Regions from separate parts of the Homo sapiens genome. Here region 1 is linked to region 2. The links are contacts of gene promoters, found by promoter capture Hi-C in human tissues and cell types (Jung and others, 2019). All regions are on one chromosome and are shown on one strand. Each heading gives the region's core, a stretch centred on a gene start or on the middle of the fragment in contact. The rest is flanking DNA. Distances are from core to core; before and after follow the strand shown.

Region 1 (5,859 bases), core at 1,317-3,816, 1.1 Mb after region 2:
TCACTGCAGCCTCTGCCTCCTGGGCTCAGACGATCCTCCTGCCTCAGCCTTCTGAGTAGCTGTGACTACAGGTGCACGCCACCACACCTGGCTAATTTTCTTTATTTTTTTTGTAGAGACAAGGTCTCACTATGTTGCCAGGACTGATCTTGAATTCCTGGGCTCAAGCAGTCTGCCTGCCTCGGCCTCCCAAAGTGCTGGGATTCCATGCATGAGCTACTGCATCTGGCTTCTAATTCTTTAATGTTTGTAGTTTTGTCAGATTTTCTGTTTCCTCCTGAGTTAGTGTTAATAAGTTGTATTTCTTTTCTTTTTAAATGGTGTGTGTGTGTGTGTGTGTATGTGTGTGTGTGTGTGTGTGTGTGTGTGTGACAGGGTCTCACTCTGGTTGCCTAGGCCGGAGTGCAGTGGTGCAATCTCAGCTCACTGCAGCCTCGACCATTCAGGCTCAGGTGATTTCTCACACCTCAGCCTCCGAAGTAGCTGGGATGACAGGCGTGTGTTACTACGCCTGGCTAATTTTTGTATTTTTAGTACAGATGGTTTTGCTATGTTGCTCAGGCTTGTCTTGAACTCCTGGGCTCAAGTGATCCACCTGCCTCAGCCTCCCAGAGTGCTGGGATGACAGACGTGAGCTACCGCACCCAGCCTAATAAGTTGTATTTCTCTTGGAGTTTCTTCATTTAACCTAAGCTTACAAGCTTTTTGGAATAAAGTTTATAAAGCCTCTTACTATATTTTTAGTGTTGTCAGAGTTTAAGTGATAATTCCATTTTGGTTTCTCTTGCCGCCTGATGACCCATTCCCAACTTAGTGACATAAACAACAATCACTTTATTAATGCTCAGCCAGGTAGCCTGAGTGTCTGGAGCTCTGCTTCTGGCTGTCAGCTGTGGCTTTCTTGGTTCTTCTCAGTGTCCTGTATGAGAAGGCTTCTTCAGTGAGGTGGCTGGCTCCCGCCTGGGGCTGACTAGACATCCTTCTCTGCATGTAGCCCCTGTGATCTCTTCAGAGCATCTGAGTTGGCTCCCCAGAGACAGTGTTCCCAGAAATAGGAGGTGGAATCTGGCTTCCTCTTCAGGTGCTGGTCTGGACCTGGCAGTACCACGCCTGCTGCGTTCAATGGGCCAGAGCAGTCACCCGCCTGCTGGGACTCATTGGGGGAAGTAAGATCTTCCCACACAAGGACAGGAGAGTCACATTGTGGCCATCAGGCCTTCCTGCCCTCCAATTCAATTCCAAGGCTGGTTAATTTGGGCTTTTTCTCTTGTGTTCCCTTTCTGTGTTTCCATGAGTCTTGCCAGAGATCACTGGTTCACTGCATTGTCTTTTCAAAGAACCAATGTTTATCTTTGTGTACCTGCCGTTATATGTAATTAATACAGGTTGAATTTCTTACTAGTTCCCTTTTTCTGTTTTCTTTGAGCTTACTTTGTTCTTCTCTCCCTGACTTGTTCAGGTAGGCACTCTTTAATTTTTTTACTCCTATTCTAGCTTGAGCACCGAGCTATAAAGGTCCCTCTGATGTACTGCTTTATCTGTGTGCCACACAATTCTGTACATAATCTTTTCTAGTTTTAAGTTCTAAGTGTTTTCTGTTTTCTCCTGTGATTATTTTCTTTTGTCTATGGATTATTTAGAAGTGTATTGCTGAACTCTCAGACATATGGGACTTTCTAGTTATACTTGGCTTGTTAATTTCTAGGCTCATGGTATTACGATCAGAGGATGAGCTCTGTCTGATTTCAGCCACCTGAAATATGTTGAGATTTTCTTTACGGCTGGGATATGGTCTATTTTTAGAAGTGGCTCATGTGTCCTTGAGGAGCTGATGTGTGATGCACTGTTAGGAGCAGCGTCTTGCATGTGACCACCATGCAGCTTGTTAATTGTGTTGTGCAGATCTTCCATCTCTCCACTGTTTTGTTTTTTCAGCCGCTGTCTGCTGTCTCTGTCACCTGCTCCTCTCCACTCCCTCCATGACAAAAAGACTCCGGTGTTTTTGACCATCTTTTATTGCGCCCCTACTGTGATCTTAGTCACGGGGCCAAGCACTCTACATCTGTTCCTCCATTTAATCCTCACGGCACCATCTGCGGCGGGTGTTCCTTGTGTCCTCGTCCTGTCCTCATAGGAGCAAGCCTGGAAGGGGCTGAGTCACTGTTCAAGTCACACGACTGCAAGGCTGAGGTCTAGGGTGGTGGCCTGGACCCCTCTTTCCTGGAAGCCATGCTTTTCCTGAAACCCCTTGCAATACTCCTGGCAAGTATGGCAGTTTTACCTCAGTTGGTATGAGTGTACTCAAATGGGAGGCAACCATTCTCACACTTGATGTTTAGACTTTGCAGCTTCCAAAACCCACTCTGCATATCACCTGCTCCCTCCTCAAAGTGGCTGGGCTTCCCATGCAGTTTCCCATCCTGCAGACGGCCCAGGGAGGTCAGATTTCTTGGCCAGGCTTGCAGAGTTGGTGGGACATGATGTGGGCACTAGAACCCAGTTCTGTAAATCTTGGTTTCATGTCCTTTCTGCTGTGTTTTTCTTTCTCTGTTTAGGCGGTGGACTTTTTGGTGTGTAAAGCTTCTAGAATGGATTTTACTTCTTTGTGGCTCTTTGGATTGAGGGAGGGGCTAGGTGCCATCTCCAGAGAAGCTTGTTCAGCTCATGCTCACTCGGGGCCCTTGCTCTCTGCCCACTGGGGAGGGGCTGTGGTGGAGCTGGATTCGGACTGAGTGGAGGCAACGCTGAAGGTCAGAGGCCAACGTCCTTGCACTTCTTGACACTCTCCACCCAGGCGTGGTGATTGGGACCGCTGGGGAGGGTGATTTGGGAGCTTGAATCTGGTGTGGGGATGATGGGGGTCATTGATAGTGGGGACAGTTCTGGACATGTGGCCCTCATTCTCTGTGCTGGACAAGATGACTCTGTGACCTGTAATTCCAGGCTGATAGAGCATTTTCAGTGACAGCCCATTTGACTTGATGGTGCTAGTGCAGGACACAGGTGAGCTTGTCTCTGTGTCTTAGGTCTGTCCCAGCAGACGAGCTGACGTGTGTTGTAGATGAATGTCAGCTGGTCACAGGTGGGAGGTTTGGAAGGTAGCCTCCAATCTCCTCTGAGGACTGCAGCAGCGACCGGGGCAGCAGGAACGCATTGTGATGGCCTGGCCAAGTCTGCATAGCGAGAGTCGAGCCACTTTCACGCGCACCTTATCCCACACTTCACCTCCTTCCTCCAGGTTCCCACTCAGAAACCCGCTCACCCCTGGACACACCTCCCAGAGACTTCTCTTTGGAACTCTGCAATGGAGAAACCCATTGCAGACTTCCCCTTCTTTTGGATATCAGTTTGCTTTTCAGGAAGAAAATTTTAATACTCCATATTGAGGTTTTATAATTATATTAGCATGTTGAAACATTTTCTCTAATGGCTTGCTGGTTGAAAACGCTTTCACACAGAGCAGAAACTAGATGGAGATACTGTTTCACAACCTCTGCTTCAGAAGCAGAGGTGGCCTGTAGCTTCCAAACCCGGGCAGAGCACGTGCAGGGATGGTGCGTCTCTGTATCTGGACTCACATTCACATGTGTGCATGTGTAGGGGTGTGTGCATATTGAATTGTAAAAAAGATGAGTACGTGTGAGATTCTGCCTGAGACTCCAGTCCTCAGTGTGTGGCCTGGTGCCGCTGATGCCGAGATGTTGGGCTGGCAGCGATCTGCCTCCGTCTGTCACAGGTGCCTCTACCTGCTGCAGGCAGACGGACGGAGACGTGATGGATTGCGCATATCCCCTTTACAGATTCGGAAGAGTACATTTAAAATAACTTAAATTTGTATTTAGAAGACTTTTCATGGAGAGTATTTATTGTTATAGAGTTCACTTCTGAAATGGTGACAAAGCTTTTGATACTGAATCAAACAAGTGTGAAGTTACCGAATCTCTCTGTTACACAGAGTGGAGCCTTTCAGGCTGGCATGGAGAGCTTAAGGGGCAACTGAAGGAGACACACTGGCCAAGCGCGGAGTTCTGCTTACTTCAGTCCTGCTGAGATACTCTCTCAGTCCGCTCGCACCGAAGGAAGCTGCCTTGGGATCAGAGCAGACATAAAGCTAGAAAAATTTCAAGGTGAGTAAAAACCTGTAAAGATCTGATCAAATCTGACTGGTAGAAATGCCTTTTTCTTGATATAAACCGCTTAATTAAGCCTTTTGGCTTGCCTTTGAAAGATGCTTTATTGAATACTTCCCGGCACAGATGATCTGTTACTGTTGGTTGATTTCTAATCTTACTGCAGCCTTAGCTCACCCATGAGTCCCTCCTGCTTGTTCTGGGGTGGTGCCTGCTGCCCTCCAGTGGCATGTGTGGCACCTGCTGCCCTCCAGTGGCATGTGTGGCACTTGCTGCCCTCTTTGGGGTCAGTTCACCATTTATTGAGTCAGTGCTTCATGCCGGGCACTAGACTTGGTGAAAGCCTTTTACCATCAATTATTATTTTCTTAGGAGTAATTAAAAGAAAATTTTCCTGTAATCCCAGCACATTGGGAGGCTGAGGCAGGCAGATTACTTGAGGCCAGGAGTTTGAGACCAGCCTGGCCAACGTGACGAAACCCCATCTCTACCAAAAATACAAAAATTAGCCAGGTGTGATGGTGCACGCTTGTAGTCCCAGCCTCGGGAGACTGAGGCAGGAGAATCGCTTGAACCCGGGAGGCAGAGGCTGCAGTGAGCTGAGATCATGCCGTTGCATTCCAGCCTGGGTGACAGAGCAAGACTCTTTCTCAAAAAAAAAAAGAAGAACATTTCTTTAGTACTTATTTTTGGCGACTATCTCATGATTCAGCGTCTGCTTTTGAGAGAAGTTGTGACAAATACTAAAATCCCAGTAAAATTAGTATGGTGTCAGATTAATTTACTTATGAGCAGCTGAGTGACTAACTCAGGAAGTCCAGTTGTACATTTCCAGGGAAGCTTTTTCATGGGTTCAGATGAGATGAGGGGAAAGAGAAGGTGTCAGAGGGCTGCTGCTGGCTGGAGGAACGCAGGTGTGCTCCTGTGTCCATTTGCTCTGTGGATACTGACGAGCGCCCACTGGGCCTCAGATGCCCTCTGGGCATGGCAGGGACCAGGCGCTCGCTTGGCAGCTCTCATGTGAGCCGCTCACTGGACACAGCCGTGCTCCCGCCTGGGAGTTCGGGATGGCATGCAGAGCTGTGGGGAGGGAGCGGTCACCAGGGCGTGAGTGTGGACAGATGGGAGTGGCTGGTGCAGAGCCATAGGTAGGGGGCGGTCACCAGGGCGTGAGCGTGGATGGATGAGAGTGGCTGGGAGCCTAGGGGGGACGCCGTCTTTGGGGAGTAGAGACACACCCATGTCTGACTACTGGGTTTTGAGTTTGTGCCAGCAAAGGTCCTGCTTGCCATTTCTGTCTGTAAATGTCAGGAATTTCAGGTAACTGGTTCCCTAGCGAGACCTTTAAAGGAGGCTTTATCTTCAACCGATGCTTTTTTTGGGGGGGTACACAGGCAGTCCAAGTATGGGAAGGTCAAAATCAGGTCACCTTTATCATGGCTTGTGCTGTGGGATGGGATTTTATTTTCAGCCACAGCGCTTCTTCTAGCTTAATTAGTGATAGGAAATCAGCTTCTCTGTAACCAGAGGTTATTGAAAGAATGAGGATCCCAGAGTTGGAATGAGTCTGAAAGAGACGTTGTGGTTTAATATTGCTAAGTTAAGTGTCGATTTGTGACTACCTATTTTTAACATGCCACAGAAGTAAAACATTGCATTAATTATGCCATATATGTGAAATAGCAAGTATTTTTATATAATATAACTGTGCATTGGAGAAATGAATTAT
Region 2 (6,228 bases), core at 899-3,398:
AGTCCAGCCTAGGCCAAGGACTTTCAGGGAACCCTACATCGACTTCGGCTCCCCACTCTTGCTAAGCTTCTTCCCCTCCAGTGCCCTGCCTTGCCGGCCTGCTGCTTTAGCTGCCCAGAAGTCTGGTCTCTTGCCTCTCACACCATTACAGTGCACCACACTACACTATGTTCACACATTTAGCAGCTGTGTTCACACCCAAACTATCTCATATATACATTTTGTTAAAAAAAACTTCAGGACTCTCTAAACTTATGATGCCAAGGGTGAAGTTAAGCCCTGGAGACTGAGTCAGTAGCAAGTTTGCAATTCTGCTTCTTCGATTACAGTTTAATGCTCTTCCTCCTTGTTCTTGAGCACAAGTGTCTTCCTCATTGTGGCTGCTCTGTAAATCAGGGCTCCCCGACCGCCAGGGCCACAGACACATACCGGTCAGGCCACACAGCAGGAGGTGAGCTTCAGGCCAGGGAGCAAAGCTTCATCTGTATTTACAGCTGCTCCCCATCGCTGGCATTACCGCCTGAGCTCCGCCTCCTGTCAGGTCAGCAGCAGCGCTGGATTCTCCTAGGAGGGTGAACCCTGTTGTGAACTGCACATTGGAGGGGTCTAGGTTGCGTGCTCCTTATGAGAATCTCATCCCTAATGATGTGTCCCTGGCTTCCATCATCCCTAGATGTGACCGTCCAGTTGCAGGAAAACAAGCTCAGGGCTCCCACTGATTCCACATTATGGGAAGTTGTATTTTATTACATATTACAACATAAAAATAATAAAGTGCACAATAAATGAAATGTGTTTGAATCGTCCTGAAACCACCCCAACTTTGTCTGTGGAAAAACTGCATTCTATGAAACTGGTCCCTGGTGCCAAAAAGGTTGGGGACTGCTGCTGTTAATGACTAAGAAAGACCAGGTCTCCCCCTTCCCATTTGGTGATTTTTGTTACAGATTAGCTGTCTCCATTGTCCTGTACCTGACTTAGACCAGACAGCACAGAGACCCCAGGACTGTTTCATCTTCAGTGGGTCCCCAAAGAAAAAGACCACCTCGACTAAACAGACTGTTGTAACTATGCATTAGGCCTTATACAGAAAAGACGCTGAAATTCGGTTAGGCTTCCCGAGACGCTGGCTATAGAAACGACCCCAAATTTCTACGTTTGAGAACACTGACTTCCATTCTTTATAATGTTTCCTGGGCGCCTCAAGCTTCGCATTTGACTAAACTCTAGATTCTGACCCTTTTGATTATTTTTGGTTGACAGTTTTTGTCATTTTATGGCTGGGAGTGATGGCTCACACCTGTAATCTCAACACTTTGGGAGGCCAAGGCTGGAGGATCACTTGAGCCCAGGAGTTTGAAACCAGCCTGGAAAACATAGTGAGATCCCGACAAAAGAAAAGAAAAGAAAAAAATTAGCTGGGCGTGGTGGCTGCCCCCGTGGTCCCAGTTACTGGCGGAGGGGGTGGGGCGGGGGGAAACAAGGCGGGAGGATCGCTTGAGCCTGGAAGGTGGAGGCTGCAGTGAGCCGTGTCCCGCCACTGCACTCCAGCCTGAGCCAACTGAGGAAGACCCTGCTCCAAAGAAAAAAAGAAAAAGAAACACCCGCGCCCCGCCCCCCCCGTTTACGTGCACAAGAAGCCCATATGCAGTTAAGTGTGAGGTTTATTTTGTGGCATTCCGAAATGCCGAGGGCCAGGTCCCCACAAAAACATTTGCGGCGTGAGGGAAACGGGAAGAGCCCAGCGGTAGGCGGAAGGCACGCGCCGGGGACACTCAGCGGCGAGGGCCTGCGGGAGCCCCCAGCGCGATAAGGAGCCCGGCCGGGGAGCAGCGGCCCGCCGCGGGACGCCCGAGCTGCGGGGAACGCGAGGGCAGCGAGGCCGGCGTCTCTGGTCCGGGAGCGTCCAGGCTCGCTCACCGCGCGCGAGGCCCGCCTGCCGAGTCCTGGCCTCAGCTCCGGCGCAGGGCCCAGCGGGGCGCCCACTGCCGAGGGAGGAAGATGGACGTGTCCCGGGAGCCCCGCTCCGCCTCCCACTTCCCACCTCCCGGTCCCGCGCGGCCGGCCCGGGCGCACTTCCGTCGGAGGCGAAGCGCGGCGAAGACCCGCCCCGTGAAGCCTCGCGCGCCCCGGAAATGGTCATGCGGCGGCGCCGAGGCCGGAAGTGGCTGAGGCCGGCAGCAGCGGGCGGCAGCTGCGGCGCAACCGGCTCCGGAGCTGCCTGGCGCGGCCGGGCGGGCGGCGCCGCTCAGGCTCGGGCTCCGGCTGGGCCCGGCGCGGCCTCGGGGCTGCCCATGGGGCGCGGGGGGCCGGGCCGGTGACGCCGGACGCCCATGGACGCCTCTGAGGAGCCGCTGCCGCCGGTGATCTACACCATGGAGAACAAGCCCATCGTCACCTGTGAGTGCCCGGAGGCGGGGAGGGCGCGGCGGTCGTTGGGCGGGCCCGGGCCCTGGCGTTATGCACCCGGCGCCCCCAGACCTTCAGCCCCCGGCGCGCTCCGGGCTGGGCCGCTTCCTGGAGGTGTGACCAGGGCTGCGGCTGAGGCGGGGCCCTCTGACTTTTCGGGGACGCCCTCTGACCTTCCCGCCGGGCGACCTCTGACCCCTGGGGGGCGCCCTCGGGCCGGCTGCAGTTGGAGCCGGTGGAACCCGGCGGACTCTGCCCGGGACTGGGCGCGCGCCGGCGTCGAGGGCGAGGAGCGGGGGCTGCCACCGCCCCGTCCCGCCCCCGTTGAGCCGCGCGCCCGGGACCTGGGGGCCCCGGCCTCTTCCGCCGGGCGGTTTTGCCCGCGGGCGCCCTTTCCCCGACTACGGGGAAGTCCTTGGGGGCTCGCAGAGTTGCAGGCGTTGGCGAAGTAGGAACAGTTTGTTGCGGGGTGAAGCGTCAGGCAGAGCCGCCGGGACTGCTTTCGCTCCTACACACTTCCCCGCCGCGCACTCAAACCATTTTACGGATGAGAAAGCCGAGGCTCGGGCGCTTAGGCGAGCTTGCTCCCCATGAACAGCCTCCCGCTCGAGTCTACACTACGGACACCTGGTGCCTCTTGGGTGTCGTGTCCTCCCCGCACCCCTCCTTTAATGCATACACAAAGGAACTGTTTTTCTGTTACGGGAAAAATGTTCCCTAAATTTTAGAAGTGTGACTCTCCAGAGTTAAATACGGTTAAGAACAGTGAGCTTATGGGAAGTATTGAAATGTTTGTTGGTTGGCTTTTAGGTGACTTGCAGAGAGGTGTTTCAGACTGTTACGATTTTTGACCTTTGACAGTATTCTGTATTTTCATGCATGTATGCAGTTAGTTTTTTTCTAGTTGTCTTTCGTGCTTGGAAAGGAAGCACTCTCTGTTGCAAAATCTGGGTGCCCAGGCCACAGTAGACTGTATGTCGTGAGAACTCCTGTTTCCCTCTCACTCTGTCAGCGGGTGTGCACCTGCTGTGTTCCTTCCTGTTAGATCCCTGAGAAACTGTATATTGAAGGTTGAATTTTGTTGCTTCAGCTTTAGGTGATAGACTTATTTCTTTCCTTCCTTTTGCTTTATTTTGTCTCTTCTCCTCTCCTCCTCTCTCTTTTTTTTCTACAGAGACCTAGACGAGATGATAGACTTTTCTTAGGGAAGTGGACTGTGTCTCATTTAAAATTGGAGACTTGCATAGTTCAGCAGTAGCTGTCTTTTTTCCTCCCCAGAATATTTGTCAGCTGAAAGTCTTTTCCTACTCTGCACCTTCAGCCCCAGAGGGCAGATGTGGGTAGAGCTGGTCTGCAGGCCCTGCAATTTCCCAGGGGCTTTCCCAGTGCTCAGGGAAGATGAAGCCATGCGCAGTTCATGTTAAGTTTTACTGTCTTCCAGAGGTTGAACATTTTTCTCCTAAAGTGCTGTGCACGTTGTGAATGCTGGATACACATTCATTGCCTGTACGGACATCCACACATCTAATTTTATCTTCTACCTCCTAGCTTGCTTACATTTCAATAGCAATATGTATTTATAGGCATTATGTAAATACATTTCTGAGGAGAAAGTTCCTAAGCTCTATTGGATTCAACCATAACTAAAGGGGTAAAGTTTGTTATCTGGTTGCCAGTGTTGGAGATATTTAATGTTTAGTTTTGTACATGCGTGCATCACGGACAGCTGAAGGATGCGGTTTTCTTTCCTACAGATTTATTGGATTGTCATCTTGGTGGTGGGTTTTTTCCTGTGTTTTGAGCAGCAGAGTGAATTTTTTTTTTTCCTTCTTCTTCTTTTTTGAGACGGCGTCTTTCTCTGTCGCCCAGGCTGGAGTGCAGTGGCATGATCTCGGCCATGATCTTGGCTCACTGCAACCTCTGCCTCCCGGGTTCAAGCGATTCTCCTTCCTCGGCCTCCCGAGTAGCTGGGATTACAGGCGCATGCTGCCATGCCCGGCTAATTTTTTGTTTGTTTGTTTTTGTTTTTTTTTTTTTTCAGTAGAGACAGAGTTTCACCATGTTGGTGAGGCTGGTCTCGAACTCCTGACCTTGGGTTGTCCACCTGCGCAGCCTCCCGAAGTGCTGGGATTACAGGCTTGAGCCCCCACCCTTGGCCTCAAGCAACATAGTGAATGTTAATCTCTGCATGGATGGTACACTGTCCTAGAAGGTGCAAACTTTCATTCATTGGAGTCTCAGAAGAGAAGGGGGCTTCAGTAGACTGTCAAAGTTAACTTGAAAAATGATCACTTTAAAAGTGAAGGTAAAAAGCTGACTTCATACTTCCCACTTGAAATTATGTTGTGGTATATCTGGGACTGAAGCTTTAGGAAGCACTTGGCCTGGTTTCACTTTATGCCTTCATCTTGCTCCTCTCTTTCAGCTATACATGTTTTGAAAGGAGAAGGTGGTATGAACAATTGCTTTAAAAAAATCCACCCAGAGGCTAATTAACCCTTAACTTTTTAATATTATGTACATAGTTCTCTTAGTAGGCAACATTTTTGTTTTCAAAAATCTTTTAAATTCTTACTTGAAATGGTATTACCTCAGATCTGTTCATTTTAAAATGAAAGTAGAGTTTATGCATGTTGTGAATTTTTTTTCCATAGAATGTATAATATTTTACTTCAGTGAAAATGCATTCTGCTTAGACCTTTCTGGGAAGAATATAGAATGTAACTGGTTCAGGTGAATTTAAAAACTGTGTATATGTAGGGATAGAAGAATGAAAAGTTCCCAAAGATTAAGGGTAATTAGAATAGATTATTACTTTAAAACCTAGCTGATTATTTCACTTCATTTTATTATTATTATTTTTTTAGAGATGGGGTCTCGCTCTGTCACCTAGGCTAGAGTGCAGTGGCATGGTCATAGCCGACTGCAGCCTTGCTGGGCTCAAGTGACCCCTCCCTTAGCCTGCCAAGTAGCCAGCACTACAGGTATGACCCACCTCACCTGGCCTGAATTATTTTAATAATATTTTGAAGCTCTCCAAATTTTTTTTTTTTTTTTCTGTCTGAGACAGAGTCTTGTTCTCTTGCCCAGGCTGGAGTGCAGTGGCGCGATCTCGGCTCACTGCAACTTCTGCCTCCCGGGTTCAGTCGATTCTCCTGCCTCAGCCTCCCAAGTAGCTGGGATTACAGGCGTACACCACCATGCCCACCTAATTTTTGTATTTTAATAGAGACACAGTTTCACCTTGTTGGCCAGGCAGGTCTAGAACTCCTGACCTCAGGTGACCTGCCCGCCTCGGCCTCCCAAAGTGCTGGGATTACAGGCGTGAGCCCCCGCACCTGGCCCTAAATGTTTTAATAGACTTTAGCCCATAATTAAACCTCCTGCCTAACGGGCTCCTGTGAAGAGGGACTAGCACAGTAGGGGCCTTCTTAAACTCAGAACTAGTTACAGCTTGTAAATACTGAAGAGTGTATGTGAAATGTGCAGGGATGGGAGCTGAACAGTTAGTGGAACTAATGCTTTGACGGGGTTGGGTGATGAATGACCGAATCATAGCAATAGGAAAACTTGTAGTATATTTTATTAATCATGAAAAATGCCTGGCGTAACTGAAACAAATCCAGCAGATCCATTTGGTCTAAATTTAAATTTTAGCGTAGATTTGTTTTTCAGCCACAGGGTCAGTTTTCTGTTTTGAAATAGACTTGGGTTTCTGTTCCAAGGGTGTATTAGGAAAGACACGTTCCTTTTCCAGCCATCTCATTCAGTTAGTGACAAAGTTAATGTAATTCCAGTGATTTGTGGCTTTTCTTTGTT

The links. Contacts are between HindIII fragments. The study calls those that stand out against the background at their distance.
Region 1: a contact is called between a fragment that was not itself captured here and the fragment with the promoter of TRAPPC10 in region 2, in 1 of the 25 tissues and cell types used here (dorsolateral prefrontal cortex).

Annotation. Positions count from the first base shown.
Region 1 is chr21:45,124,447-45,130,305 of GRCh38, forward strand. ADARB1 (adenosine deaminase RNA specific B1) reads left to right here. Exons shown (of 11, transcript NM_001112.4): 2 at 3,956-4,127. Among named protein-coding and RNA genes, the nearest start is that of ADARB1, 53 kb to the left of the region's middle. RefSeq lists an enhancer at 1,004-1,183. The HindIII fragment of the contact is 3,738 bases long and covers 698-4,435 here.
Region 2 is chr21:44,010,161-44,016,388 of GRCh38, forward strand. It overlaps TRAPPC10 (trafficking protein particle complex subunit 10), which reads left to right and starts at 2,149. Exons shown (of 23, transcript NM_003274.5): 1 at 2,149-2,400. The coding sequence starts at 2,334. RefSeq lists silencers at 1,774-2,153, 2,304-2,973 and enhancers at 3,524-3,583, 3,604-3,653. The HindIII fragment of the contact is 5,486 bases long and covers 842-6,228 here.